Regions from separate parts of the Homo sapiens genome. Here all the other regions are linked to region 1. The links are contacts of gene promoters, found by promoter capture Hi-C in blood cells and fetal thymus (Javierre and others, 2016). All regions are on one chromosome and are shown on one strand. Each heading gives the region's core, a stretch centred on a gene start or on the middle of the fragment in contact. The rest is flanking DNA. Distances are from core to core; before and after follow the strand shown.

Evidence for each region. Contacts are between HindIII fragments. The CHiCAGO score rates a contact against its expected background, and 5 or more counts as called.
Region 2: a contact is called between a fragment that was not itself captured here and the fragment with the promoter of BPGM in region 1, in 2 of 17 cell types (fetal thymus and total CD8 T cells). The highest score is 6.1, in fetal thymus.
Region 3: a contact is called between a fragment that was not itself captured here and the fragment with the promoter of BPGM in region 1, in 3 of 17 cell types (naive B cells, total B cells and neutrophils). The highest score is 7.6, in naive B cells.
Region 4: a fragment that was not itself captured here is called in contact with the fragment with the promoter of BPGM in region 1 in 13 of 17 cell types (naive CD4 T cells, naive CD8 T cells, total CD8 T cells and 10 more); the score reaches 18.0 in naive CD4 T cells.
Region 5: a fragment that was not itself captured here is called in contact with the fragment with the promoter of BPGM in region 1 in 13 of 17 cell types (total CD8 T cells, naive CD4 T cells, non-activated CD4 T cells and 10 more); the score reaches 17.9 in total CD8 T cells.

Annotation. Positions count from the first base shown.
Region 1 is chr7:134,643,643-134,649,713 of GRCh38, forward strand. BPGM (bisphosphoglycerate mutase) reads left to right here and starts at 3,211. Exons shown (of 3, transcript NM_001724.5): 1 at 3,211-3,295. The region is part of intron 1 of LOC124901750 (a long non-coding RNA gene); the gene reads right to left. RefSeq lists enhancers at 3,188-3,337, 3,438-3,547. The HindIII fragment of the contact is 1,395 bases long and covers 2,537-3,931 here.
Region 2 is chr7:135,512,136-135,518,206 of GRCh38, forward strand. No RefSeq gene overlaps it. Among named protein-coding and RNA genes, the nearest start is that of CNOT4, 5.1 kb to the left of the region's middle. The HindIII fragment of the contact is 1,211 bases long and covers 3,088-4,298 here.
Region 3 is chr7:135,237,280-135,243,350 of GRCh38, forward strand. STRA8 (stimulated by retinoic acid 8) reads left to right here. Exons shown (of 9, transcript NM_001394401.1): 2 at 3,240-3,437; 3 at 5,502-5,577; 4 at 6,047-6,071. The coding sequence starts at 3,246. Among named protein-coding and RNA genes, the nearest start is that of STRA8, 6.5 kb to the left of the region's middle. The HindIII fragment of the contact is 5,652 bases long and covers 1-5,260 here.
Region 4 is chr7:135,175,926-135,181,996 of GRCh38, forward strand. No RefSeq gene overlaps it. Among named protein-coding and RNA genes, the nearest start is that of CYREN, 8.3 kb to the left of the region's middle. The HindIII fragment of the contact is 819 bases long and covers 3,262-4,080 here.
Region 5 is chr7:135,155,738-135,161,808 of GRCh38, forward strand. The region is part of intron 1 of TMEM140 (transmembrane protein 140); the gene reads left to right. It also overlaps a transcript of CYREN not described here. Among named protein-coding and RNA genes, the nearest start is that of TMEM140, 11 kb to the left of the region's middle. RefSeq lists enhancers at 5,359-5,448, 5,529-5,578. The HindIII fragment of the contact is 6,388 bases long and covers 250-6,071 here.

The DNA of each region.
Region 1 (6,071 bases), core at 1,961-4,460:
AGATAAAGACACTGAGGCTGAGGTCAAGCAATTTGCCTAGGCTATTCTGCATTTTGCTAGCCTAGCAAAACCATTGGCTCCTTCCTTCCAGCAAACTCTAGAGTTAGCTATGATTGTGAGGCTTCCCCAGCCACATGGAACTGTAAGTCCAATTAAGCCCCTGAGTTCCCAGTGCTGGAAAGTGACAGACACAAGGTGCTTCAAAGATTGCAAAGCTATTCCAAAACTGCCTCCATGATTCTTCACCCTACTCTGTGAGGAAGATGAGGATTCTAAGTTTTAACTTCTGAAAGAAAGGGACAGACTTTAAGGTCCCTTCTGAGAGGTCTGGATGGCTGACCCATAACAGCATTTCCAGTTTTTAGTTTCAGAAAAGGGAGTCTTGTACTTAGGAGGTCAATGATGGGGGCCACGCATAGGTCTATTATACTAGGTTACGAGTGGTAAATTTTAATCTGACCCTGAAGTAAGTAGGGTACAGTTGGAGACTAAACACTGGCAGCAAATAACCAACTCATGGTGTGTCCTGATACTGTGAAGAAAAGGAGACACTCCTGTACATGGCATATAGAACTAGCTAACTCTGGAGTTTGCTGGAAGGAGGGAGCCAATGGTTCTGCTAGGCTAGCAAAAGGGAGAATAGCCTAGGTCCGTGGATGATGTTTTGATGCACGGTGGACCAATTCAGCCATACGTGGAAAAGGCTAGAGGCTCTGTGCACATAACTGTGAAATTATTTTGACCAGGTATGTATGCTATCAATAAAATAGTGGTTTATTCAGGTCACAAGGAAGACAATTTTCAACTAAAACTCAAAGTATCACATGGGTTAATACTGACTTTTTGATATACACCTGTAACAGAAAGGAAGACAAAGAGACAACATAGCTATAATAATTTATTGCTTTTCATTTCTTGTTTGGATAAAAGTGAGACTACATCAAAAGCTGTTTGATGACACTGAATTATTTTCATAGTATCTATATCACTTGCTGTATCAGAACTGAAGTCCTCATGACTGGTCTTCAATGGAAGTGAATCCTAAAATTAATCTTAATTTAAAAAATACATTGCTTTTGGGGTGAGGAGGAGAAGGCAGCAGGAAGAGGAAGCATCTTCCCAGAATTATATGAATTAGCAACCTTGGGTCCTAGCCCAGGATTTGTCCCCAACCAAGTAATTCTGAGCACATCACTTAAGCTTCAGTTTCTTTATCTGTACAACAAGGAGCTAGAGTTTAATTTCCAAAGCCCTGTCAAGTACTAAGTTTGTACAAGTCTAATATTCTTTGGAGTTCATCTTTGCCTTAAATGGATTTATGATCATCTTTGTGAACCACGACCTCGTTATTTAAAAATTCATAAGAGAGACAGCTCATCGAATAGACCAGGACACAGGGTTCAGGATATGATACTGTAACATAATTAAGTATGGAGAACAATCTTGCCATAGGGCAAAAGTAACTCCTGAAATTCTGTTAGCCTCTGTGCACATTTGTCTTACAAACATGCTTGCTCCTGATGAAAATCTGCTTTTTAATTCCTTCTAGACAGAATCACTGATATAAGCTTCCATCTTATATCAAAATGACTCATTCATAAGCCACATACTCTTGCGAATGATTCTAAAAGGCAAGTGATGTTTGATATTAAGGTTTTATGTGACAAGCTAGCATTCCATGGGTGTCCATAACAACAGTAAACTTAAATCCAATGAGTAGGCGCCCTTAAGTCCAGACTAAGTAGCCCTAAATGCCAAATGCCACAAGACTGTCACTTGGTAATGACTGTCATTAGCCTCCGGAGTATGGATGGTGGGCACTCTGAATAGGAGCTTTATTACACTGTAGAAGAAAAGCTTTCTCCTTACTTTGTCCTCAACTGATATTGAGAAAAAAGCAAGAGGGCAAATGTATAAGATTTGGAAGCTGCCCCTTCCAGCTGTTCTGGCCTGAACTCTAGTTAATCTTGTGCAAGTTAAATTCTAACTATCACTAGGTGAGACCTATCACCTGCTGGGACCTGTCAAGCCTCGGATTAGTGCCGTCCCGGAAGTAAAGTTCTGTTGATATCCCAGGAGGAACTGTCATGCTCTAACATGGATAAATGAGATACAGAACTGGCTACGATTAGGTCTTAATGAGTTCAATAAAGAGTGTGTCACAGAATTTCAAATGTGGAAAGATTATCTTTTCAACTGTATGTATAATTTATTCTGAGGACTTGCTTGCGTGTCACAAACCTAATGCATTTGTTAGGAGGATGAAACAGGAAAAACTCACAGGAGGACACGAAACACTACTTAGGATAGCTTCTAAGAAGGGAATCTCCCATAACATTCCTTATCTTTCCCGCCCACCCAAGAGTTCTGACACATATGCTTCAAAACCTCGTGTGGTAGTTCAAGCCTGCTTAGAAGCTTTTAAGGCCTCGTGCCAGGTTTCCGGTGTTTTCATAGATTTCTCTTGTTCAGTTATTGTCGCCTCCAAATTTGTCATTCTCTCATTCCACTCTAGCCTCCCTTCCTCTGTGCAATAAGCTTTTAGGGCATTCCATTAATCACTTTTCTTCCCCACCTAAAATACTGTCAGCAAACTGCCTAGGGGAATCCCTATAAAAGCGGTAAGAGAAAGTAAGGTTGCGTTACTGCCTATAAATTGGGCACTTTAAAGGCATTTGTTTTAATCACGACTTAAGACTTTCAACCACGAGTAATTTGTGCGAAAGGAGCTTCTTCTGGGAGGATACCTCGGCTTCGTCTTCAGGTTTCAATCCCTAAATTTCCCATAAGTAAAAGAAACATCACCTCCTCTCTTCCAAGAGTCCGCTGACACCTGTCTTCACCCGCAGGTGTTTCTTTTAAGACGTTAAACGCTTTCTAGAACCTCAAACAGCTAAGATGCTCCCCGCACCCGAGGTTTTGCACCAGCGACGCTCTAGGGTGTGTTTTTCTACTTCCCTAGGCCCAAGCCTGCCCGCTGGCGTCGAAGCCAACTCCTTACTGGTTCAGGTATGTGCTCGTCTCTAGAGTAAACCAATCAGAGCCCCACTTCTTACTCCTGGGATTTGGTAAACGGAAGAGACCTCTCCTGTTCCGGGAGTAGGCCGGGACCGTGGATGAGTGACAGTTCGACTTTCCAATAGGCAGAGCCCTAGGACCTGCCCACGTCTGGTTCAGGGGCTAGAAAAGAGCGTCGATGCCGGCGGCAGTGATGAGTCCTAGGAGGCGCTGGCTCTTTGGCGGCTCGGAGGAGCGGCTGCTGCTGCTGCTGCTGCTGCTGGTGGCCCCTTTGCAGGTGAGTGGCTTTGTTTTAGAAAATGTTGCGAACGTTTACATTTTTTAGTGATGTGATGTTTTATTTTTGGGTGCGGGGAAGGCCAGTTTCTTTACTTCCCCCGGTTTAGTCGTTGGTGGGAGTCTGGTGCCCACTCCAGCCCTCAAGCTGGGACCCTCACTTATCGCCCCGGTCCCTTTCCCTTGTCCCTATCTCAGAATGAGCCTCGCAGGCAGTCACCGTTCTGTCAACTGAGAGGAGGAGCCCGCTTTGGTAGTGCTGTCCTTATGGCAAGAATATATAGAAGTTGGAGGGAAGATAAACTCTCTTCTGGATGTCTGAGGTACTGTGTAGCAGAGCCCTTCCAATAGTAAGATCCCCTGGAAGGAAGCAGGGCGATGCCGCTGTATTTAGGGTTCTGGCAGACCTGGCCCTATCTATCATTTTGTGTAGTAGACAGAAAAACTCGAATGCGGTGAAAAGAGAAGGAGGTGAATATATGCAGTGTTTTCATGTAGGAATCTGGAGCCAAATCACAAGTTCTTAGAACCACTAGAAATAAAAACGTAAGTGTATTTTCCTCTTTTCTAAGGGACGAGCTGGTATTACACTAGAGAAGGTCAATGAAATGCATAATTGCAGTTAAGTTCACAGTTAAGCTTTAAAGAATAGTTGGTTGTTAGCTAACTTATAACTCTCATCCCCCTACTGCCTCCCTTGCAAATTACGGAAGATCTTTAGCTTGTGAGTGGTACTAGAATGTTAGCTGACTAAATGCAGACTCTTTCCAAGAAGGGGAAAAATCAAAAGCTAAGTTTCACCTGTAGGTACTAAAGGTTTTTTAATAGTGAAAGCAGAACTCATGTCAATTTGTCTTTTATTTTTTATTTTTTTTGAAACGGAGTCTCGCTCTGTCGCCCAGGCTGGAGCGACTGCAGTGGCTCGATCTCGGTTCACTGCAACCTCCGCCTACCGGGTTCAAGTGATTCTCCTGCCTCAGCCTCCCAAGTAGCTGGGATTACAAGCATAGGCCACCACGCCTGGCTGATTTTTGTATTTTTAGTAGAGACGGGGTTTCACCATGTTGGCCAGGGTGGTCTTGAACTCCTGACCTCAGGTGATCTGCCTGCCTCGGCCTCCCAAAGTGCTGGGATTACAGGCGTGAGCCACCGTGCCTGGCCTTGTCTTTTTTCTTTCTTTCTTTCTTTTGTTTTGGTTTTTTTTTTGTTTTGTTTTCAGACGGAGTTTCGCTTCTGTTGCCCAGGCTGGAGTGCAATGGCGCGATATTGGCTCACCGCAACCTCCGCCTCCTGGATTCAATCGATTCTCCTGCCTCAGCCTCCCGAGTAGCTGGGATTACAGGCATGCGCCCCCACGCCCAGCTAATTTTGTGTTTTTAGTAGAGACAGGATTTCACCATGTTGGCCAGGCTGGTCTCGAATTCCTGACCTCAGGTGATCTGCCTGCCTCGGCCTCCCAAAGTGCTGGGATTACAGGTGTGAGCTACCGCGCCCGGCCTTCTTTTTTTTTGAACTGCCTCCCGTGAGTCCAGGGAATAGCTCTTTCTTAGCCATCTTTGTATTCCAGTAGCACCTCATACACCGCAGATGCTCCCCAGTTGGTGGTGGACTTCAGAGAAGCATAATTCAAACAGTGTCATAGTGGAAGGAGCTCTGAGTTAGAAATCAAGAACATTGGCTTTAGTCCTGAAACTGTTACTATTTGTGTGATCTTAAACAAATCATTTCAACTGTGACTCTTAATTTTTGCATTTTTTTTTTGAGACAGGGTCTCGCTCTGTTGCCCAGGCTGGAGGGCAGTGGCGCAATCTCTGCTCACTGCAACCTCCACCTCTGCCTCCTGGGCTCAAGCGATCCTACCATCTCGATTTTTGCATCTTTAGAAAGCAGATGTTGCATTAAATTATATCTGAGATATAAACTCTGTATTTAAAGTCTGTTTTAAAGTAAAAATTATTAGTATACAAGCAGAATCTCATTGCAGTAAATTCTGTACCATCTATTAGCAAGTAAAAGTTCCCAGCTTCAAGGATATATTCTTGTTTTTTAATTTTTAATTTTTGTGGGTACCTAGTAGGTGTATATATTTATGGGTTACATGAGATATTTTGACATAGGCATGCAATGCATAATCACATCAGAGTACATAGGGTAGCTGTCACCAAAAGCATTTATCCTTTATGTTTCAAACAATCCAATTGTACTCTTTTAGTTATTTGAAAATTTACAATTAAATTGTTTTTTTTTTTACTATAGTCACCCTGTTGTGCTAGCAAATACTAGGTCTTATTGATCTTCCTATTTTTGTCCCCATTACAAGGATATACTCTTTTGTGTTCCTATTTAAACCAAACCAGATTATTGTAGAAAATTTGGAGCATACCGAAGTATAATGTGGCAGAAAAATGTCACTTAGAAGCAACTACTGTTAGTGTTTGGGTAGAGCTTTTAGTCTTTCTTCCTCTTTTGCCTGCTGTGGTTGGTTGAGATTAAGAGGCACATTTTAAGTAATGATTGATGCACCTAAATTCACCTGGCCTTCATCTTTGTGTGTCTGGGGCCTGAAGAACAGAGGTCACAAACGTGTTTGAACCGAATGGTTTCTTGAAACATCCTTGGAATGAAATCTGATATGAAAGATGTTTATATGGGTGGCAGGACAAAAAGTATTACTTAATAACAAAACCCTTCTGCTGAAACTTAGCCACAAATATGAGGAAAACATACTTTGTAAAATATAAATTAAATGTTAACCACTTCATTAAAGCATTTGGATT
Region 2 (6,071 bases), core at 2,443-4,942, 870 kb after region 1:
TTTCATCTGAAATCAAAATGATGTGCTATTTATAATATAAATGATATGAAGAAAATATTTTATAATAAAATTGTATTTCAATATATAAATGCTCAGCATGACCATTCTAGAAATACAGTCAAGTCATGGTTTGCTAGCACTTATAAATAAAATATCCAACACTAGGGGGCAATGCCACCCCTGTATTGAGACTGACAGTAAGGAGGTGACAGTTCCTAGGTCACCAATTGTAAGAGTCACTACCATCTCAGGCCAGTACTCCTTTTACTATACTACATTGCCAGTTTTCATATGTTTATGTATGCATATGTGTATATATATACTATCATATAGACTTATGTATGTAACACTTCATTCTCATATAATTTTAAAAGTTAACATTAAATTTGGCCAGGTGTGGTGACTCATGCCTGTAATCCTAGGACTTTGGGAGGCTGGGGCGGGAGAACTGTTTGAGGCTAGAAGTTCAAGGCTAGCCTGGGCAACCTAGGGAGACTCTGTCTCTACAAAGATAAAATTTGAAAAACAGCTGGGTATGGTGGTGCCTGCCTGTGGTTCCAGCTACTTGGGAGGCTCAGGTGGGAGGATCACTTGGGCTTGGAAGTTGAGGCCGCAGTAAGCCATGATCATGTCATTGTCCTCCAGCCTGGGCAACAGAGTGAGACTCTGTCTCAAAACAAAACAAAACAAAACAAAAAACATTCAGTTGTATTACTTTGCTTACCTAATGATTCCTAAGTGTGGAACCTATCTATTCACTTAACAAATCTATTTTGCCTTTAGGCATTGTGCTCAATGCTGGTGGTATAGCAAAACAATGGTCAGCAAAACATGGTCCCTGTCCTCATAGAGCATAATGCCTAGTAGAAAAAGCAGAGATTAAATAATCATATAAATAAATAACTACAAGCATATAAACAGAATTTCATATATATGATTACAATTGGTCATGAGTACTAAGAAGATGTATAAAGGATGTTATGAGAAAGTTTAAGAGGGGAGCCTAATTTAGATTGGTGGGGAGAGGAGGGTAGTCTTTACCAGGTTGAGAGTGGAGAATATGCAGAGACAGGAGGTGGTTAAAAAAAACACTCACCACAGGCTGGGCACGATAGCTCACACCTGTAATCCCAGCACTCTGGGAGGCCAAGGCGGGTGGATCACCTGAGGTCAGGGGTTCAAGACCAACCTGGCCAACATGGTGAAACCCCGTCTCTACTAAAAATACCAAAAAAATTAGCCAAGTGTGGTGGCAGGTGCCTGTAATCCCAGCTACTCAGGAAGCTGAGGCAGGAGAATTGCTTGAACCCAGGAGGTGGAGGTTGCAGTGAGCCAAGATCACGCCACTGCACTCCAGCCTGGACAACAAGACCGAAACTCTGTCTCAAAAAACAAACAAACCTCACCATGGCCAGGCATGGTGACTCATGCCTGTAATCCCAGCACTTTGGGAGGCAGAGGCAAGCTGACTTGAGCCGAGGAGTTCGAGACCAGCCTAGGCAACCTGCCAAACCTGCCAAAACCAGCCTAGGCAACCTGCCAAAACCCACCAAAAATACAAAAAATAAGCCGGGCGTGGTGGCACACATCTATTGTCCCAACTACTCAGGGGGGCTGAGGTGGGAGGATCGCTTGAGCCTGGGAGGTTGGGGCTGCAGTGAGCCAAGATTGTGCCACTGCACTCCAGCCTGGGTGACAGAGTGAGACCTCATCTCAAAACAAAAACAAAAACAAAACAAAAAAAGCCTCACCAGAAGGTGTATATGGACTATGGTGAGTAAGGGGAAGGGTGGCATGAGGTGAATTTAGAGAAAGGCAAGGGCCAGGCCGGGCATAGTGGCTCATGCCTGTAATCCCAACACTTTGGGAGGCCAAGGTGGGTGGATTGTTTGAGGTCAGGAGTTCAAGACCAGCCTGGCCAACATGGTGAAAGCTGGTATCTACTAAAAATACAAAAATTGCTGGGCACAGTGGCTCACGCCTGTAATCCCAGCATTTTGGGAGGCCAAGGTGGGCGGATCACGAGGTCAGGAGATCGAGACCATCCTGGCTAATACGGTGAAACCCCATCTCTACTAAAAAAAAAAACATAAAAAATTAGCCAGACATGGTGGTGGGCGCCTGTAGTCCCAGCTACTAGGGAGGCTGAGGCAGGAGAATGGCATGAACCCAGGAGGCGGAGCTTGCAGTGAGCTGAGATTGTGCCATTGCACTCTAGCCTGGGCAACAGAGCAAGACTCTGTCTCAAATAAAAAAAAAAAATTAGCCAGACATGGTGGTGCACGCCTGTAGTCCCCGCTGCTTGGAAGGCTGAGGCACAAGAATCGCTTAAGCCCAGAAGGTGGAGGTTGCAGTAGTCGAGAACACGCCCCTGCACTCCAGCCTGGGCAACAGAGTGAGACTCTGTCTCAAAAATAAATAAATAAATAAATATAAAGAAAGGCAAGGGCCAGATTATCCAGGCCCTTGTAGATAGGAAACACAGCTCTTATATCACAGGAAAAGGAAAGCCTATGGAGGAAAGAGTCATGATCTGACTGACTTCTTGAAAAGACAATGCCACCCAATGTCCATCAATGGGAAAGTTATAAATTTAATTTCAGTGCTTCCATTTTCTGGAATATTACGTGGCTATATGAAAAAAAGAAAGGGAAAGAATGACATATTGACCTGGAGGAATGCCCATGATATGTTTATCAGGTAAAGAATAAATAAATACATTATAACGTAATATATTGTGTAATGTAATACATTTTTTAGAAATGAAAAGAACCAGTGCAAAATAATACAAATAGATTTCTATATAATCACAGAAAAAAGAATAGAAGGATTCATTACACATCAAACATTTAGTGTGTGTTGGTTACCTGGGAGGATTGTAATTAGATAGGCATAGAGGGAAAGCATAATATTTGCTTTATAAATTAACCAGGCTTAGTGGCCCATGGCTGTAGTCCCAGCTACTTGGGAGGCTGAGGTGGGAGGATCCTTTGAGCCTAGGAGGTCGACCCAGCAATTCTGCAGTGAGCTGTGATCGTGGGCAACAGAGACCCTGTCTCAAAACAAAATGGAAAAAGCAAAAACAAAAGCTTTTCTTCAACCTGAGGAAGTTGATTTTTAAAAAAGAAAAAAAACATTTTCTTTATAAATTGCTTCATTGGTTTTTTTGCATATGAATTCGTTTTATACATTTTTAAAAAATAGATCACTCAGCTTTGTGGAGAATGGATTGGAGAAAGGCAAAAATGAAAATGGAACAACTAATGAAGAGAATATTTCAGTCATCCAGATGGTAGTTCTGAATGTGGTGGTAGCAGTAAAGATAGGGGGAAAAAAAGGTGATGAATTCAAGATATATTTTTTTGGAGTTGAAATAATAGGACTTGGTGATGTACTGCACATGAAGTTCTCATCAATGACTCTCAGATTTTCGGGCTTCAATGGCCTTGTAGATAGTGGCTCCTTTAGTAAAAGGAGAATGGCGAATATTGAAATAGCATCTGTAGAAAGCAGAGCAACTTTATCAGAAAAACAGCAGGATTTCAGGGAAATAATGGCTTCTCATTTGAGACTCGTGAATTTAAAAATCATAGTGATTATGTCTTCCCCAACTTAGTGATTTTTCTTAATAATGTTTATTTGCTTGGTTTCTGCCAAAGAAACTACGTACAGTTGGGTTTATCTAGGCTGGAGGAGGACAATAAAAACAAGAGAGGGTTAAGGGGCAACCAGAATTATAGATTGTTTCCCATTTTTTAAGCCTTTTAAAATTATTAATATATAGATTTTAATTTTAATTTTTTTTGAGACAGCGTCTCACTGTGTCACACAGGCTGGAATGCAATATAGTACAATCTCAGCTCACTGCAACCTCTACCTCCTGGGCTCAAGCAATCCTCCCGCCTCAGCCTCCTGAGTAGGTGGGACTACAGGTGCACACCACCACATCTGGCTAATTTTTGTATTTTTTGGTAGAGACAGGGTTTCCCCATGATGCCCAGGCTGTTCTCAAACCCCTGGCCCAAGTGATGCACCCACTTCTGCCTCTCAAAGTGGTGTAATTACAGTCATGAGCCACTGCATCTGACCTAGATTTTTTGTCTTGGAGGTGGGAGTCTCACTATACTATCCAGGCTGTTCTCAAACTCCTTGCCTTAAGTGATCCTTCTGCCTCAGCCTCCAGAGTCGCTAGAACTGCAGGCATGAACCACCACACCCAGCTAGATATTTTAAATAAATAACATCATTTTCAAGTTACATTCTTGGGATATATTCTCAAATATAGACTTGCTAGGCCAAGCTTGTCCAACCTGCAGCCCACAGGCCACATGGGGTCCAGGATAGCTTTGAATGTGGCCCCACACAAATTCATAAACTTTCTTAAAACATTATGAGATTTTTTTTTGTGATATTTTTGTTTCAGCTATCCTTTGTGTTAGTATATGTTATGTGTGTCCCAAGACAATTATTCTTCTTCTAATGTGGCCCAGGGAAGCCAAAAGATTGGACACCCCTGTACTAGGCCAAAGGAAATGATCAGTTTCATGACCCTTGTTATGGCTAGATTGCTTTAATATTAATGCATTCTAAAGCCACTTTATTCGTGGGACTTTTTTTTTTTTTTCCAAAAACCCATTAATTTTGTGGGTTTTTTTCTGTTATTTAGTTAGTTTTAATCACTTACTTAGTATTTGAGTGTTAAATATTGGGTATATGGTGGTAAACAAAACACTAAACTCAGAGATCTTAGGGTTGAAAAGGAGAGACAGACCACAAGTAAAATAATAAGCAAATTACTTATACTGTCAAAGTATTAGGAAGGACAAAGAACAGAATGATAAGAGAAATATCAGGAAGGGATTTACTTTAGATTGGAAAGCCTCTCTGAAGAGATGACTTAATCTGAGATTAAAAGGATTTGAAGAGATTATCCATTTAATGAATGGCCTATGCCAAGACCCGAAGCAGGAAGAAGTTGAGCATATTCCAGGAATGGAAAGTTAGCCTGTGAAGTTGGGTCAGAGAACACAAAGGCAGAGTGGTAGGAGATGAGGTTAAGGAAGGAAGTAAAATCCAGATTATGCAGGGCTTTACATGAAGTTTGGATAAGAGACAATTGAATGATTTGAAGCTGGAGAGTGACACGACTCAATTTATCTTTTCAAAAGACCACTGGGGCTGTCATGTGGCAAGTAGATCAGAGATAGGCGGTGAATGGAGAAGTGGAGAGACCAGTGAGGACACTACTGCAGAAGTGCAGCCTGGAGATAATGCATGGCTTGGACCAGGGCAGGGCTGGGACTAGGTTAGGGGAGTAAGGCAGCGTTTGCCTTGGGCACAACATTTTAAAAATTTTTATTTATTTTATTTTTTATTATTATTATTTAGAGACAGGGTCTTGCCTAGGCTGGAGTGCGGTAGCATGATCATAGCACGCTGTAACTAAGATCTTGAACTCCTGGGCTCAAGGAATCCTCCCACCACAGCCTCCCAACTGCAGGCATGCAGCACCACCATGCCCGACTAAGTTTTTTATGTTTTATAGAGATGAGGTCTCACTATGTTGCCCAGGCTGGTCTCAGACTCCTGGCCTCAAGCAGTCCTCCCTCCTCAGCCTCCCAAAGTTCTGGGATTTCAGGCATGAGCTACCGTGCCTGGCCCTAGGGTATAAAATTTAAGCAAACATTTAAAAACTCAGTAATTAAGGTCAATAATGTTTAGATAAAACATTTTAAAAAGTCAAAGTTAATGCAAAAAATCCATGATGAACAAAATATTAAAATATAAGATAAAGACAAAATCCAAGGCTGGGCATGATGGATCACGCCTAGAATCCCAGCACTTTGGGAGGCCGAGGCAGGTGGATCAGTTGAGCTCAGGAGTTCGAGACCAGCCTGGGCAACATGATGAAACCCCATCTCTACAAAAATTATAAAAAATTAGCCAGGCATGGGCATGGTGGCGGACACCTGTAGTCCCAGCTACTTGGGAGGCTGAGGCAGGAGAATGGCGTGAACCCTGGCAGTGAGCTGAGACCACGCCACTGCACTCCAGCCTGGGTGACAGAGCGA
Region 3 (6,071 bases), core at 1,185-3,684, 590 kb after region 1:
CTGCTATAATTCCTTACACTGCTGGGAGCAGTTTCTTTGACATACTTTGCAACTGCAGAGGGCTTTTAGGAGAGCCGAGTTTTGTTTTTAAGTAACAGATCACTTCTTGATCTCATTTTTACAATAGTTAGCTCCCCCTTTCACAGTATGTTTCATTCCCCCTTCCTAGCCAAACGGCTAATCTTGGAATAAGGCGGAGGGTCCTGCCCTCCTCTCCCCATCCTAGACAGTAACTTCTGAGGCACTTCTTCCAGGCGAGCCAGCCCTTCACACAAATCACAGGTGCTGACGGGACAGACCCAAGTGTATTATTAGATAAAAAGAGCTCTGTCCACCGGGCGTGGTGGCTCACACCTGTAAACCTTGCACTTTGGGAGGCCGAGGCAGGCGGATCAGGAGGTCAGGAGTTCGAGACCAGCCTGACCAACACGGTGAAACCCCGTCTCTACTAAAAATACAAAAATTAGCCAGTCGTGGTGGTGGGCGCCTGTAATCCCAGCTACTCAGGAGGCTGAGGCAGGAGAATCGCTTGAACCCGGGAGGCAGAGGTTGCAGTGAGCCGAGATCACGCCACTGCACTCCAACCCAGGCGACAGAGCCAGACTCCATCTCAAAACAAAAAACAAAACAAAAAAAAAAGAGCTCAGTCTAACAAAGATCTACCTAAGACCCTGTCAGGGCCACAGAGACGGAAAAAATTCCAAGTCAATCGAAATAACTAGGAAAGAATGCCTTGTGCGGATCATACATAGCACAGTGGTTCCTAGTAGTGAACAGGAGGCAGGATCTAGAGGGAAGACATTGAAAATCGCTCAAGGTCTAATTAAGAGTAACATCTCCAGCGCTTGATTCTGCCCTTAAAGCAGAGTAGGAGGGTCATCTCCCATCTTTCCTGCGGTGTGCCCCCTCCCTGAGCCAAGGGGGGGCGGGGGTGTAAATTTCCCCCAGCTCCTGACCAGGGGGCGCCTGGGGGCAGGCAAGATGGAGGCCACGGCTCCAGGCAGCTTGGCCAGCATGCTCTGGGGCTGTCCCCGCCCCTAGGGGCGAGCAGCCCTGGCGGCTCCTAGAGGCGACTGGTGGGAAGTCTGCCCCCTATGGGGGAGGCAGAGGACTGCACTCTTGTCCAGGGCTGAAACTGTCCACACAGCCATCCAGGAATTTCAGGCTGAGCGTGTTTGGGCAGAAGGGAGGACACCCAGCACTGGCATTGGGAGAACTCCAGATTCCCTACAAGCCCAGAGGCCTTTGGTGTTAGTATCCTGAGACTGTTAGAGAACTTGAGGTCCTGGGAGGACCCTGTTATTTTTATATCTCTGTTCATCTAGAACAGTGCTTCCCACCCGCTTCCCTTTTTCTGTATGTTAACCTAAATCCCCTGGTGTCCAGACACATCTGTTGCTCCTTAATTTAAACAAGTAAAAACAAAAAACAAAAAAAACCTATATTCTTCTGTTCAAAAGGTTCTCATTTTCCCTGGGCAGTTCAAAATCTTCACAGTTTCACTTTGCTTCCTATTAAAGATTAGTTGGTATCTGGAATTGAAGACCATGAAGGCATAGGCTCTAATCTAACATAACCCTGGAGCTGGGCTTGAGGGGCCTCTGCAGATTGGTGCTGTTTTCCCTTGGAAGATACCACAGTGTAATTCCTGGTAACAGATGTGACAGAGACATGCACGGACCAGCATGGGCAACCACAGCATCACTGTTCCCATCTTCCTGCCCTGTTCCAAAAAGCAAAACAAGGGAAAGTTGATACACTGGGGAAGACCAGATTATTGATGAGAAGTTGTTTTCTGAGCTAAAAAGTGTTTCAACATCCCACACTGCCTGATTGGGTTTACCATCTCATTGGCCTATTTTCCATACTATAGCATAGTGGGAAAGGTGTCTTCCATCTCCCTTCCTCATAACCCCTTAATGAAGATTGTTTCCAGCTGCTGCCAGCTGGGGTGATGCTTGACACACAAATCAAGAGTTAGCGGTGGCTCTCAAAGTGTGAAAGTATAGGAATCACCCTGGGAGCTGCACGCTGGGTTCAGATCCGATGTTTTCAAGGCAGGGCCTGGGCATGTGTATTTTCAACAGTCTCTGCAGGTGACACTAACATACCTCAAAATTAACAAACCCCTGGCGGAGGTCATGCATTGTCTCTGTATGGACTGAGCTCAGCAGGGAGTAGACCTAGCAGAAACCGCTCACTGTAATTCACCAGAAACTCCAGTACTGAGCACCTAATGGGGGCCAGGCTCTGTGTTACGCACTGAGGGTACAGAAGTGACGAAGTCGCAGCCTCCCTGTCCAAAGAGCAGACAGGCTAGTGGGGAGTAGATCTCTGAGTAGTGGGGTGAGGCCTGATGGAAGGGTCTATGGCTCAGGTAAAAGGCCCTGGCCCCTGTATCTTATTAAAACAATTACATGTCAGTCCCAGAATCGCCTCTCCTAGGGAAGGGCTTCTGGCTTGTAAGCTCAGATGTAACAAAGAAGGACACAGTGATCATCTCCAGAACCCACTAGAGGCAAGATAAGGCAAAATGGGTTTCAGTTCTCTGTCGTCAGGTGACTTTTGCTTGCACAGGTGGTAAAGTGAATTTTCTTATTTTCTTTTTTATGTTTTTCCTTGAGGTATATCACAGAAAAATTCTCGAGTCTAAAGTGTACCCCTTGAGGGATTTTTTTTTCATATGCATACACCTGTGTAACTACTATCCACATCAAAGAGGGGGCATTCTTGAGGTAGAAAAGACCTCACAGTGGGGACAAGTACCTGTTCAGCTTTGAACAGACTAAAGTAAAGCCTGAGATCTCAGGGTACAGCTGCTCTCCTTGGCCACGCGTAAAATTAACCCCTGAAATTAACAAGTGTCTGGTGAGTATCTGCAATGTGTTGGAACCTTTCCAGGTAAGTTCCAGGGCCCCTCAACTCTTAAGTCCTATATGGGTGGTTTGCAGTTTTAGGAGTTGAATTTCAAAAACAGAATTTGTGTTGACCCTGTATAATCTCCATCTGCTTTTCTTAATTAGCAATTGACCAACATCACCTTCAAAGGGCTTTTGTAAACTTCTCAAATTTCTCTCACTGTAAATCTTGCCAATAACTGAATTCATGAGGGAGTGAATTTGGGGCCTTTACTTGGGAAGGGTACCTCCTTTCTGCCTGCCTCAATTTGCCTTCCTTTTCCTTTAATATTGTATTTTTATTATCTAGGGCAAAAAAAAAAGCATACTATTACATTACAGCTTATAATGGCAACCCCTGAAGAAAACAGCAATCCCCATGACAGAGCAACACCCCAGCTGCCAGCACAGCTGCAGGAGCTTGAGCATCGGGTGGCCCGGAGACGGCTGTCCCAGGCCCGCCACCGAGCCACCCTGGCAGCGCTCTTCAACAACCTCAGGAAGACAGTGTACTCTCAGTCTGATCTCATAGCCTCAAAGGTATGGGGACCTGGAGGAGGAGAGGGGACATCTCCACGGGGAAGGAGACGTTTTCACAGGTGGAGGGACTGTGTTGCAAGGCAGGGACTGGCCTGGAGCTGCCACTTCTGCTGGGGTAGCGACAAATGCCCTAGACAGGGTAATTTATAAACAACAGAAGTTTATTGCTCCAGGTTCTGAAGCCTGTGAAGTCCAAGACAAAGGTGCCATCAGATTGGGTGTCTGGTGAGGGCATGCTCTCTGGTTCATAGACAGGGCTATCTTGCTGTGTTCTCACATGGGGGAAAGACAAACAGGTTCCCTCAGGACTCTTTTATAAGGGCACCAATCACCTTAATCACCTTCCAAAAGCCCCCACCTCTTAATACTATCATATTGGGGATTGGGTCTCAACATACTAAATTTTGGGGGGACACAAACATTCAGACCACAGCAGGTGGACAATCATCTTTCCACCCTACGAACAAGCCCAAGATGCTGGAAATCAGTCAGCCCCTGGTTCCAAGTCTTTGCTGACCCAACAGCATCAACATGAGCTCTGGGACTGGGGAGAGCAAAACACATAGGAGTGCTCAGGGAGCTTGCAATCCACTGTATCATCATGCAGCTGCGGTTCCCTTCACCTCCTCTTTGGCCTGGCAGAGCACTGTGACTCCAGCCCCCTCAAGTCTCCTTTTTAGGCACCACTAGAATCCTTGGAATCTAGAATGTCAAATCCCAGGCTACTCTGCCCCCAGCTGCTTTGGGGTCCCCCCTCCATGCCCACCCCACACTCTGGCCACATCTCACTGCAGCAGTTCCCTGAGCCAGGCCTGCCTCTCATGGCCTCTGTGTCTCTGCTCATGCAGTTAGCTCTGCCTTTGGGATTCTGTGCACACTTCAAAGCTGGGCTTGGCTCACTCTGCTCAGCTGCCCTGCTCCATGGAATCTTCTGGACCCCTCCAGTTGGACTATTCCCTCCTCCTTGTACATTTTCACAGCCCTTTGCTTCTACCCCTTGTTAGTACCTACTTAATTCTATATTGTGTTATAAGGGGTTGTTTCCATGCTTGTCTTCCCTGTCAGAGGTCAGCACCCTGAGAGAGGGGACTGTCTTATGTACTCTGTATCCCTGGGACTTACCACATAGTTTTGCCCTTGTACATGCCCAAGGGATGCATGCAGCCCCTGACAGATATAGGTGGTCAGCCTAACAAACAACATTTAGCATTGCTCGTTTTTGAATAATCTTGCTGTTACCATTTTAGCATTGCTCGTTTTTGAATAATCTTGCTGTTACCATTTTGACTTTAATAATGTTACATACAGGAAGTAAGGAGGGAAGAAGGAAGGAAGAGAAGAGGAGGAAGGAAAGAAAAAGGAAGGAAGGAAAGGAAGGGAGGGAGGGAGGGAGGGAAAAAAGGAAGTTGGAAGGGAGGAAGGGAGGAAGGAAGGAGGGAAGGAGGGAGGGAAAAAAGGAAGGAAGTTGGAAGGAAGGAAGGGGGAGGGAGGGAGGGGAGCAGAAGGGAGGGGAGGGAGGGAGAGAGGGAGGGAGGGAAAAAGGGAAAGAGGGAAATTTAGAGTTCAGGTTGACAGCATTTGATAAGTTTTTAGATCATCTGGAGCGTATGCAGTTAGCAAATAAAAATAGTGGGAGAATAGGACATTTAATATTAACTAGCCCTTTGCACAGGGTTACCACTGAGCTGAAGTCTAGCTCTGCTTTGTGCAAGCCTGGGGTTGACGTTCATGCAGAATGCGCCTCTTCCATCACTCCTTATTCCACCTTCAAGCCGCCTCTGTAGTCATTTGCCTTTCTACAGCACTAGCAATTTGCTGAACAAAGCTTAACTCTTTCCAAATCCTTTGGCATTTCGGTGAGAACCCACTTCTAGGCTACAAACAAAACTTCCTGCCTCCTGTGCATCAGAACAAACTTCCTATTCTTTTTACTGACAAGGTTAAGGGATGTGACTTTGCATCTGAGGGAGCGTGGCCTCAGCCCTGGGAAGGGATTCCTGGGTCCACAAAATCAGTCTCTGCAGTGAGAGGCTGGCTTTCAGCATTGTCTCTGTCTATCCTCAGTGGCAGGTTCTGAATAAGGCAAAGAGTCATATTCCAGAACTGGAGCAAACCCTGGATAATTTGCTGAAGCTGAAAGGTAATGGAGCACTACTTGCCAACCCCATCTCCCTCCCTGGAGAAAACTGGATCTGTTTTTCTATTGAAAACAGAAGTTGGGTTACAATGAATCAACAAATATTTATTGAGGGCCTACTGTGTGCCAGGAACTGTGCTTGGGCCAATGTTGAGGGTCCCTGTCCTTAGTGAGCCTGCAGTCCAGCAAGACTGGCCAGAGTCACCAGGCCATGAGACTCTGATGAGTTCCCTACTGGAGTGCTGCCAAAGGCACCTGATCTCATCTTCAGAGGCCAGAGGAAAAGTGGGCTCCTGCTTGTCTAAGGCTCTCCCTTCACACCTAGAAGGAAAAACTGGACCCTGGTCTCCCTAATGCTGACCCTGGAGGGTTCAGGGTCCCACCCACAGCCCACCTGGGCCAGAAGGGTGGGAGAGACTCAACAGAGGCCTGACTTTTCTCTTTGTGTTCCTGGTCTTCAACTCCCCAATAGCATCCTTCAACCTGGAAGATGGGCA
Region 4 (6,071 bases), core at 2,421-4,920, 530 kb after region 1:
TATGTAACATTAGGCATTGACAGAAGAAGACTGACCTCCTAAACTGGAAACAGCTTACACCCTCCTACACGGAGAAGCCCCAGGCCCTCATAGACTTCAGGCAGTCCATCTTTCTGACTCATAACCCTACCTGGCCTGATTGTCAGTAGCTACTTTTAATATTGTTCAATACAGAAAAGCGCAGGAGAATTACTCAGGCAGCCTTACAGTGGTTAGAAAGCAATGCGCCTGAAGGCACAAATGATGTTAAGCGGTAGGCACAGAAGAGGTTCCCAGAAGCAGATCCAAATTGGGATCCAAACCAGGCAGGAGAATTGCAAAACCTGCATAGGTATCGGGAGGCACCCCTTAATGGAATAAAGGCCAGAAGGAAAAAGGCAGCGAATTTGGGAGAGGTCTCAGAGGTATGCCAAAAGGTTGATTAGAGTCCCAGTGAATTTTATGAAACACTCTGTGAAGCATACCGGCTTTATACATCGTTTGATCTGGAGGATGTAGGGAATCAATGCATGGTTAACGTGGCATTTATGGGCCAGGCACAAGGTGACATTAGACAGAAGCTTCAGAAGTTGGAAGGTTTTGAGGCTATGTATATTACCCAGCTCATTCAAGTAGCTACTAAGGTGTTTGTTAATCCAGAGGAGGAAGCCAAGAAAGAGGCAAAGCACAAAGCCAAGGAAAAGGCTGATTTGTTGGCTGCTGCTCTGGTTGAGAGACTGGTTTTGTGAGAGGACGCGGACTTGGTCGTGGTCACAGTAGAGGACAAGCTAGGCCAGGGTTTGAAGGCCAGCCTAGGCTTGAGAGGGATCAGTGTGCAAGAATGCAAACAGAAAGGGCATTGGAAGGTTGAATGTCCAGAAAGAGAAAAGGAAGAAAGTAGCAGCCAGGGACCTGATGCCCGCCCAAGGCCTGCAGCCACTAGCCGTTGTTCTAAAGCTGGATGCCGATCTGGTCAGCTTAGCAGGAGTTGAGGAATATAAGGACTGAGACAGACTGGGCTCCATCTCTCTAGGCCTCCAGGAGCCCCTGGTCTCTATGAAAGTGGGAGGCCAAAAGATGGACTTTATTGTGCCCCTGTTAGGGAGAGACTTGCTTCAGAAACTACAAGCACAAATTTCTTTCAGGCCAGAAGGAAACATGACTCTGGATCTAAGCTGACCAAAAGCTATGATGTTAACTCTTACCCTCCACGAGACTGAGGAATGGAGGCTATATGTAAAAGAGGTGTACAGGCTGTCTGAATTTATGGACAGAATATTTGACAAACTAGTCACTGAAATACCTGAGGTGTGGGCAGAAGACAGTCCTCCAGGATTGGTCATAAACCGGGCACCAGTGGTAGTCAAGTTAGTTCCAGGTGCAACTCCAGTGCGTATTCCCCAGTACCAGGTGTCTACAGAGGCAGTGCGAGGAATGACCAAGCACATAAATCGGCTATTAGAACATGGGATCATAAAGAAATGCAAGTCACCCTGGAATACTCTACTCTTAACCAGTGCAAAAACCGTCTGGTGGGTTCAGGCCTGTGCAAGACCTATGGGACATAAATAAAGTTACTGTTACCTTACATGCGGTGTTGCCAAACCCGTATACAATGACGAGCCACATTCCTGCTCATGCTGCCTGGTTTTCCTGTTTGGACTTAAAAGGTGCCTTTTTCTGCCTCAGGCTAGCTCCAATGAGTCAGCCTATTTTTGCATTCCAATGGGGAGGAACACAATTCACCTGGACCAGGCTCCCACAAGGGTTCAAAAACTCCCCCACTATCTTTGAAGAGGCACTAGCATCAGACCTCAAGGCTTTTGTCCCACCAAATGACAAGTGTGTATTGTTACAATACATTGGTGATCTTTTGTTTGCGGCACCTACCGAGGAAGATTGCTTCCAGGGCACCAAAGATCTCCTTTGCCTTCTATGGAAGGCAGGTTACAAGATGTCTAAGGAAAAAGCTCAGGTCTGTGCAAAAAGAGTAAGATATCTAGGTTTCCTAGTAGCCCAAGGGCAGCGTGAACTCGGCAGTGGGCAGAAGGAAGCCATATGTGCGCTCCCCACTCCTGTCACCCGGCGACAAGTAAGGGAGTTTTTAGGGGCAGCAGGCTTTTGCTGTACTTCAATGCCAAACCTTTCACTCACGGCAAAGCCATTGTATGAAGCCACAAAGTGGGGGAGAAAAAGAGCCCCTCCTCTGGGGTAATGAGCAGAAGAAGGCCTTTAATGAGATCAAAAAGGCCTTAAGCCAAGCTCGAGCCCTGGGATTGCCAGACCTGACTAAGCCTTTCTTTTTCTATGTCCATGAAAGAAAAGGAATGACTACAGGAGTTTCAGTTCAAACAGTAGGATCATGGTATTGACCAGTAGCCTATTTATCAAAGCGGTTAGACCTTGTGGCCCTGGGGTGGCCCCCCTGCTTAAAAGCATTAGCTGCCACTGCCATGCTGGCAGAAAATGCTGGAAGCTGACACCAGGACAAAAGCTAATAATACGGGTGCCACACACAGTGATCACCTTAATGGAGCAAAGAGGATATATCACTGGCTATCTAATCCAAGAATGTTAAGATATCAGGGGCTCTTATGTGGAAATCCATACGTAACTTTAAAAACCGCGAATACCCTCAACCCGGCTACCCTGTTGCCTGTAGAAATGTCGAAGTTGCAAGACCAGTTTCCCCAACGCTATTGCGTAGACGTAGTAGATGAGGTGTTCTCAAGCCGGAAAGACTTAAGAGACCAACCCTTTAAGGACCCAGACGCTGAATATTTCACAGAGGGAAGCAGGTTTGTATCAGAAGGGGTCTGCAGAGCCGGGTACGCAGGGTGACTCTAAATTCAGTAGCCAAGGCACAGGCCCTCCCTACCAGGACCTCAGCACAAAAAGCAGAATAGCTCTAAATAGAGCACTACTAGTAGCCAAAGGAAGGACAGTTAATATCTATACTGATTCAAAGTATGCTTTTGCTACATTACATGCCCATGGAGCCATTTACAAAGAAAGGGGACTCTTAACTGCTGGAGGGAAAGAAATTAAAGAAGAAATCTTACAACTCTTAGAAGCTGTGTGGGCCCCAGACAAGGTGGCCGTTATTCACTGTAAAGGACATCAGACAAGAGGCGGCATAGAAGCAAAAGGAAATAGGAAGGCAGACAGAGAAGCCAGACAAGCAGCTATGTCCAACTCAAGTACTAAAAAGAAAACCCCAACCCTGCTGCTTCTACTAGAACCTTCCTTACCTGAAACCCCAAGCTACTCTCCCAATGAAAAAGCTTGGTTTGAACAAGAGAGCGGAAGTTACATACAAGGAGGCAGGTGGAAGTTCTCAGATGGGAGGCTAGCTATTCCGGAAGCAATAGCCCCCCAATTTATGAAGCAGTTTCATCAGGGAACACACATGGGAAAGACTGCATTAGAAACTCTTGTAGGATGGCATTTCTATGTGCCATGCCTTACTGCCATCACTCGAGCCGTTTGTGAGCAATGTTTAACCTGCGCCCAGAACAATCCATGGCAAGTGCCAACTCAGCCCCCAGGGATTCAAGAGACCGGAGCTACACCCTGTGAAAACTTGCTTGTGGACTTTACCGAACTGCCCCGAGCACGGGGTTATCAGTACATGCTAGTGTTTGTTTGCACTTTCTCAGGGTGGGTCAAGGCATTCCCTACCAGGATAGAGAAAGCCCAAGAAGTAACCAGAGTGTTGCTAAAAGACATTATTCCTAGGTTTGGACTGCCTCTAACTTTAGGATCAGATAATGGCCCAGCATTCATGGCTGAAGTAGTTCAGCAGCTGTCGCAGCTGCTAAAGATAAAGTGGAAATTGCACATAGTCTACCACCCACAGAGCTCAGGAAAGGTAGAATGGATGAACCAGACACTAAAACATCTGCTGAAGTTTTGTCAAGAACCTCATCTTAGGTGGGATCAGGTCTTGCCCATGGCCTTTCTCCAAGTCAGGTGTACCCTTACCAAATTGACTGGGCTTTCACCCTGTGAAATTGTGTTCGGCCGACCACCCCCGATTATAAATCAGGTAAAAGGTGATCTGTGGGAACTAGGGGAACTAACTTTAAAAAGGCAAATGCAAGCTTTAGGATTAGCTATGCAAAAGATTCATGGCTGGGTACGAGAAAAATTGCCTATAAGCCTAACAGACCCAGTTCACCCCTTTACACCTGGGGACTTGGTTTGGGTTAAGAAATGGAACCCAACCACACTAGGGCCCATATGGGATGGGCCCACACTGTAATCTTGTCTACTCCCACTGCTGTTAAAGTTGCAGGTATCACACCTTGGATTCATCACAGTCGACTGAAGCTGGCTGCGCAGGACCAGTGAACCAGTCAACAAGACTCAGACCATCCAACATGACTAATCCTGTGGCAAAACCACGACACCACTGAGAAAGTCAACCACCCTGCTGTGATCACTCTGGAGGCTGGTCAGTCTACGCACAACTGAAGCTTGAGAAGTCAAACCCTGCTGTAGTCACACACTGGAAGCTGACTAGTCTACGCATGGCCAAAGCTTGAGGAGTCTTCACTAGATAAGTAAATGTGGATAGAACTTATAAGCCTAGTAGTGATCTTAGTAATACTGATTATCTTATTATTATGTTACTGTTTTTGTTCAGGAAAAGGCCTATATTGGATCTGTGGAGCACAGGCATATCAGCAACTGCCAGCTAAATGGACAAGAGCATGTGTATTAGGAACAATCAAGCCATCCTTCTTTCTAATTCCTCTAAAGCAAGGGGAACTCTTAGGATATCCAGTCTATAATGAGAATAAAAGAACTAAAAGGAGCATGATCTCAAAAATAAATATAAATATCAAAAAAGACATAGACATAGGAGACTAGAAAAATAATCAATGGCCTCCTGAAAAAATCATTAAATACTATGGGCCAGCTACCTAGGCACAAAATAGGTAATGGGGATACCACACCCCAATTTATATGCTCAACTGTATCATAAGGTTACAGGCTGTTCTTGAAATAATAACCTATGAAACATCAAGAGCTTTTTGATGAACCTATGAACATCAAGATTTACTAGCTGTACAAGCTACACAGATAAGGAATGCCATATATCAAAACAGGCTGGCACTAGATTACCTCCTAGCCTCAGAAGGAGGAGTATGTGGGAAGTTTAATCTAACAAACTGCTGTTTAGACATAGACAATAGGCGAGCTGTCATGGGAATTACTGCCAGGATGTGGAAGTTAGCCCAAGTTCCAGTTCAAACCTGGTCAGGTTGGTCTCCAGATTCTCTCTTTGAAGGATGGTTTTCAACCTTTAGTGGGTTCAAAACCTTAATAGGTGGGTTCCTGCTTATCACAGGTGCCTGCCTAATTCTCCCTTGTCTCCTACCTCTTCTCATCAGAAGTGTTCAGTCAACTATAGAGGCAGTTGTGGCCAAATACACTACTACTCAAATAATGGCATTGACTAAGTATTGCCCCAAGAATAATATGTACCGACTCAAGAAAAAATAAACAACTGTGGTGCTATTAACCAACATTTATATAGAGCACCAAAGGGGGGAATGAAGTGGAAAATTAAAATAGGATAATAGCATAAGTAATAATAGTAAAATTATAGTAACAGAAATAATAGCTCATAGAATGAATTGCTGTACCAACCAAGGCTAAAAAGAATTTAAGTAGCCCCCCTGAAGTTAGAGTTAAAGAAGGATATTAACTGCCAGTCCCAAGAAACATTAACCATATCTGCCCTTCAGGTATTTTGTAGGCTCTGTAAGCTTGTGTTTTCTTCCCTCCTTGTACAGCTGCAAGGTCACAAGACAGATAAGCATAAGCTGCATACTAAGTTTTCCCAGAGATGTAAGACATGTTGCAAAAGTGTCACAAGATAATTAATGGACTTTGTTCTTGCTTCTGTAAGCCTGCTTCCTGCTTCACGTAATTCCTGCCTCAAAATGCTTAAAAGACATTCGTTTTCTTTGATCTATGCTTAGATTTTCTGGATGCAATTCCACTGAGCCAATGTACACCTAAAAATAAAAACTTTCCTGCATCCAATTCTTCGGTCTCTCTTGTCCCTTAATTTTCGCAAC
Region 5 (6,071 bases), core at 2,194-4,693, 510 kb after region 1:
CTACTCAAAAGGCTGAGGCAGGAAGATTGCTTGAGCCCACGAGGTCAAGGCTGCAATGAACTGTGATTGCACTACTGTATTCCAGGTTGAGTGACAAAGCAAGACCCTCTATCAAAAATAATTAATTAAAAACACCATTCATTTCAGTGTTTAAGATCCTTTTGAGCATTTCCTGTAGTACCAGTCTAGTGGTGACAAATTCCCTCAGCATTTGCTTGTATGGGAAGGACTTTATTTCTCCTTTTATAAAGCTTATTCTGGCAGGATACAAAATTCTTGGCTGACAGACACACTGTTTTTTTTTTTCCCTTTAGCACTTTGAAAATGCCATCCCATTGTTTTCTGGCATGTAAGAATTCTGCTGAAAAGTCCTCAATTGGTCTGATGAGATTTGGGATTTCCTTTATAGGTGACTAGTCACTTTTGCTAATTTTAAAATTCTTTCTTTCACTTGACTTCAGACATTTTGAATATGCCATGGTGAGGTCCTTTTGCAATGTATTTTCCTGGGGATCACTGGGCCTCCTGTATCTGGATGTCTATTTCTTTAAATATGTTTTCTAAACTTTCTAATCTCTCTTCCCCCTCAGAAATACCAATAATTCATAAGTTCAGTTGCTTCTTGCAGTCCCAGACATCTCAAAGGCTTTATTCATTCTTTTTTATCCTTTTTTCCTCATTTTTGTCTGACTGGATTATTTCAAAAGTCCTGTCTTCGAGTTCTGAGATTCTTTCTTCTGCTTGGTGTAGTCTACTGTTGAAGTTTTTGAGCATATGGTGTATTTCCTTCAATGAATTTTTTAGTTCCAGAATTTCTGCTTGTTTTTATTTAAGATGTCTATCTCCTTGATAAATTTCTCATTTATATCCTGGATTAATTTTCTGATTTCTTTGTATTAGTTTTCAGATTTCTCTTGCACTTCATTGAGCTTCTTTAAAATCAATATTTTGAATTCTTTATCTAGCATTTTGAAGAATTCTCTTTGATTGGGATCTGCTGCTGCTGGACAGCTGTTGTGGTTCTTTGATGATTGTTACGGTTTGACTGTGTCCCCACCCAAATCTCAACTTGAATTGTAGCTCCCATAATTCCCACATGTTGTGAGAGGGGACGCCAGGGGAGGTAACTGAATCATGGGGGCTGGTCTTTCCCATGCTATTCTCGTGATAGTGAATAAGTCTCATGAGAACCGATGGGTTCATCAGGGTTTCTGCTTTTGCTTCCTCCTCATTTTCTCTTGCCACCACCATATAAGAAGTGTGTTTCACCTCCTGCCAGGATTCTGAGGCCTCCCTAGCCATGTGGAACTGTAAGTCCAATTAAACCTCTTTTTCTTCCCAGTCTCAGGTATGTCTTTATCAGCAGTGTGAAAATGGACTAATACAATGGTGTCATGTTTCTCTGCTTTTACATGTTTCCTGTATCCTTCCATTGATTTCTTTGCGTCTGGTGTAGCAGTTGCTTGTTCCAATTTTTTGAAATTGCTTTTATAAGGGAGAATTTTTTCCTGAGGATATATGCATGTTGTTAAGATGCTTTGACTTTGATTTTGGATGCCTGCAGTCGTGTGATCTTTCTATGACTTCTTCGGCATAGGGTCAGTGTTCTCTGTGATTTCCTCAGTGGGATAGAGTATGGTAATTAGCTGAGACTAAGTCCCCAGAAGTTTAGCTGGGACTTGGATGCCAACTGAGCAGCCTTTGGACCCCAGTGGTGGCAACAGTGGGGTAAGTGTGCCCTTTTTAGGCCCCACAGCAGCTTACGCTGCTCTGGTGGTTAGTGGGTCTTGGAGGGCTGATTCTTGGGCCTCCACATGGCTTGCTTAGAAGCTAGTAGTGGGAGTGGTGAGCCCAGTGTGTGGGCATGATCTCTAGCCCCTGAGCAGGTGGTGTCATGTGAGTGATGGCAGTAGCACTGTTGAAGCAGCCAACTGGGATCCAAGCAGTCCATGTTGGTGTTGCTGGAAGCTGTGATGGGTTGGGTGAGCTACTCCCCAGTCTCACAGCCACCTGTAGCAGGGTGGTGGGCACTGTTCTAAGTGTGCTTAGGAGAGCTTGGTCTTCCCTGTCCCTTTCCTACCAGGGTGGCAGCTGCAGCCACATTGCCTGATTGTTAATTCAGACTGGTTATGAATCAGCATTAAACTCTCAAAATGGTGCCAGCTGTGGGCTTGTGAACAGAGAAGGTGGGGCCCCTATCAGGTGAGCAGCATGGTCAAGAAGCTGTAGGGAGGGTGGTCTACTTGAGTCTCGGTCTCACAGCAACCCGTAGCAGGCACTGGGTATTGTCCTAGGTATGTGCGGGAGAGCATAGATTCCTTGTTTCTCCTTGACTGGGCAGCAGCTTCAGCCACATCAAGTTGAACTCAGCAAGAAGGTGGGGCACAGCCCAGCATTAAACTCTCAAAATGGCACCTTGGGCCTGTGACCAGGAGGGCAGGGGTCCCTCCAGGCAGGCAGCATGGGCAAGAAGCTGTAGGGAAGGCAGTCTGCTCACATTTCAGTCTCAACAGCAGCATGTTGCAGAGCAGTGGGTATTGACCTAGATGTGCATAGGACAGCCTGATTTCCCTGTTAATCCTTGGCTGGGTGGCAGCTACAGCTGCACCAGCCCAATCTCAGTTCCAGGGAGGGGTGCTGCCCAACATTAAACTCTCAAAATAGCACCTGGAGCCTGAGACCAGAGAGGGAGGAGCACCTCACAAGTAAGCAGCATTGGCAACAAGCTGTGGAACACACAGGATGGCCACATCTCGGTCTCACAGCAGCCCATGGCAGGGCAGGGGGTCTTGTCCTAGATATGTGTAGGATGGCCTGATTTCCCTATCCTTCCTTAGCCAAGAGGCAGCTACAGCCTCATCAGCCCAAACTCAGGCTGGGAGGGGAATGCAGCCCAGCATTAAACTCTCAAAATGCTACCTTGGGCCTGGGATCAGAGAGTGTCCCTCCCAGACAAGCAGTGTGGAAAAGAAGCTGTGGGGAGGGGTGTCTACTCACATCTGTCTCAATAGCAGCCCACAGCAGGGCAGCAGACCCTCCCAGGGGTGCATGGGAGCACCTGCTCTCCCGTCTCCCTCCTTGAAGCAGCTCGGCAGCAAGAGCCATGTCTGTAGAGTCCCAGTATCTAGGCTCTCAAAATGGCACCCTGCTGAGGCTGCTCCAGGTTCAGATGCATGTGAGATTTTGTATTGGTTTCCTTTCTGGAGCAATGCCTCTGTGCAATGTTTAGGCAGCTCCGAATGTCAGGCCCAGGCCCTGGCCCAGTGGGTCGAGGTTTCCTTCCGTGGCCAAGATTATAAAAGTTTGTTTTGGAGCCCTAGGGGGTTCTCTCTTACTGTTTCCCCACATCAGGAGCCTCTCCCGACTCTCAGTCGGTTCCCAGCTGGGCAAGCTGCCTCGAATCCTCTCCTTACTTCTCATGTTTCCCATATCTTTTCTGGTTTATCCTAGCATTCTCTCCTAGACAATCTGTTCAAAATGGATCCACTTACTATTCTGGTTTCTCACCATGGTGGAGGCACATACTACCTGTGTTTAGATAGCCATCTTGATCCTTTCGAAAATTTACTCTTTCAATAAGAACCTGACAAATACATAATTTAGAATTAAATGATACAATATTTGTGTCTCTTTCAGCCGCCATCCCATTCTCCCTTATTAGTATGAAAATGTTAGAGGTGCTTAAACCAACAAAAAAGCTGCCTTAAATTAATCTCCTGAGAATACTTTCCTTCTATTTCCCTAACTAGGAATTTGTATCGCCTTTAAGCAGAAATCATCTCCCTCCTAAGGCCCTGCTCAGGCTGTAACTCTTGAGTGACAGTGGTCAAGTTACATGCTGACCTGGAATCTAAATCTGCATCTTGTTCCAGAGGACCTAGTGCAGCAAAGCATTATACTTTACTGTCACAACTAAGATGGCAAAAGGCTAACAGCCTTTATTTTTAAAGGGTTCATACAGACCAACAAACAAAAACTGAAACTCAAAATTATTTTTAAAATAGCAAAAGAACTGACAGCACTTCACAAAAGAAGAAATACAGATGGTCAACAAACACTTGAAAATGTTAAACTTTACTTATTATGAAGAAAAACTATCAATGATTCATCATTTGTCATTATCAAAGAATAAAAGACTCAAGAATATGCAATACTGGGGAGGATGGGATGAGACAGGCACTCTCTGAAACTGCTGGTGGAAACATAAGTTGATTCACAAAAATATTCACCATAGCATTCATAGCATTATAAAATAATGTTACAAAGCATCTATGTATAAACTATAAACTATGATACAGCTATATGCAGCCCTTAATGTTTAGGAACCATTTCTAGTTCACATAGAATGATGTTCACAAAGTGGGATACAAACATATATATTTATGTAATCCCAACAGTGTAAAACAATAGTGTAAAAAGAAGTGTGCTGTTCAGAGTGGTTATTTCTACGACCTGAAGTATAGATGACTTTTAGTCTTTTCTCTGCACTTTCATGTATTTTCTAGTTTCCTACAATCAGCATGTGTTATTATAAACAGGAAAAGGTTTATCTAAAAATGGCCACAGTGACTCAGCAGTCTCCCCTTTGCCCTCTGAAGGAAACACTGGCTTATCATTAAAGGACATTTAAAAGCTCATTGTGGTGGAAGTGTCATTACCAGGATTGTTTAAGAAAAGAAAAACAAAAACCAGGGAAGGCCCATGGGGAAGTAGAGAAGAGTGTCATGGGGTTTCCAACCAAAGATCCATATGCTGTCACTGCAAAATGTTTAGGGAAAGAAGCGAGGACTGACTTCCACCCTCTCCATACACAAGTTCCTGAATTCTGTCCATAGTTCAACAGAAAGCATGGATGGGCCATGCCAGCACTGTGCTGAGCATGCATACGACATTAAACACAACCCTCCCTCAGGCAGCTCTGCTGTCCTAAGATGTGTAACCAGGATTCGTACATGAAAGAACTCAGGGAGCCTATGTAGCATTTTCATTCGCTCATTTAAAAAAAAAAAACAAAAAAAAGAGCCCCTACTGTGTATCAAAATAACAAAACTGAAGACTGTTCCTCAGAGACATGACACTAGAGTGGAGAATAAATCCTAATTTATAGCTAAACCAGAGTGTGGGCTGAAGGAGCCCAGGAATGCTCTTGCTGCATGGATCAGATTTAGAGAAGCAGAAAGTAGAGTAGGACTCTAGGAGCTGGGGGGTGGCTGAGGATGGGCAGATGGGAATGTATTCATACACAGCCTGAGCAGCTGAGCAGGTGCTGGACTGCACAAGGCAAGAGGGGAAGCTGGGCCTCACCAGAGAATTCCAAGTTCAAGTTCCAAGTCGCACCAGATGATGGCGAGCCTCATAAGAGCTGGGACTGAATATAAAAAGGTGAGAGGCCACCACCTTCTCCACATGCCTGGTCCTGGGCTTCTTGGCTCGTTTTGTTTTGCTCTACATTAAAAGGTCAGTTGAGAGAAAATGAGGAAGTCAAAACAAAGGCTCCTGGCGTCTGGCAGGAGCTGCCGCAAGGTGGCTGATGCAATCTCCCCGAGGAGCCACATTAATTTTTAAAAAGGCAGCTGTTTTCAAAGCAAAACGTTTAATAATTTTTTTTGGAACCCCAGTGTAACAGAATTCAAATGGGAAAAGTGAGAGGGAGTGTTTAAACAAAGGCATCCCCAAGTCCCTTCCCAGTTGGTCCTGAACAATGGAGGAGGTCAAACCTTCTTTTCCACAGCATGATGGTATAAATCAGGGAAGTCCTGGAAATCTATTCCACACCCTAAAATACCCAAACCCATTAAAAGCACAGATATAGGCTTTTACAAACATTTACTAAATAAGCAAAACCATACAAAATATGTTCCCGTCGGCAATTTTTCCCATACCATGGACTCAAATGGTTAAAACTCCTTATCATCCCAGACTAATGCCACCTTTTCAATTCCCAATAATTCCTTCCGTAACAAGCATCATTGCTCCAAGAATCTCTCAACTACATTCAAACCCGAGTCTTCAGACCCTTGGCCCTCTGGGACCTCCAGAGCCTTTGACAGTGCCACCCAAGGCAGCAGCCA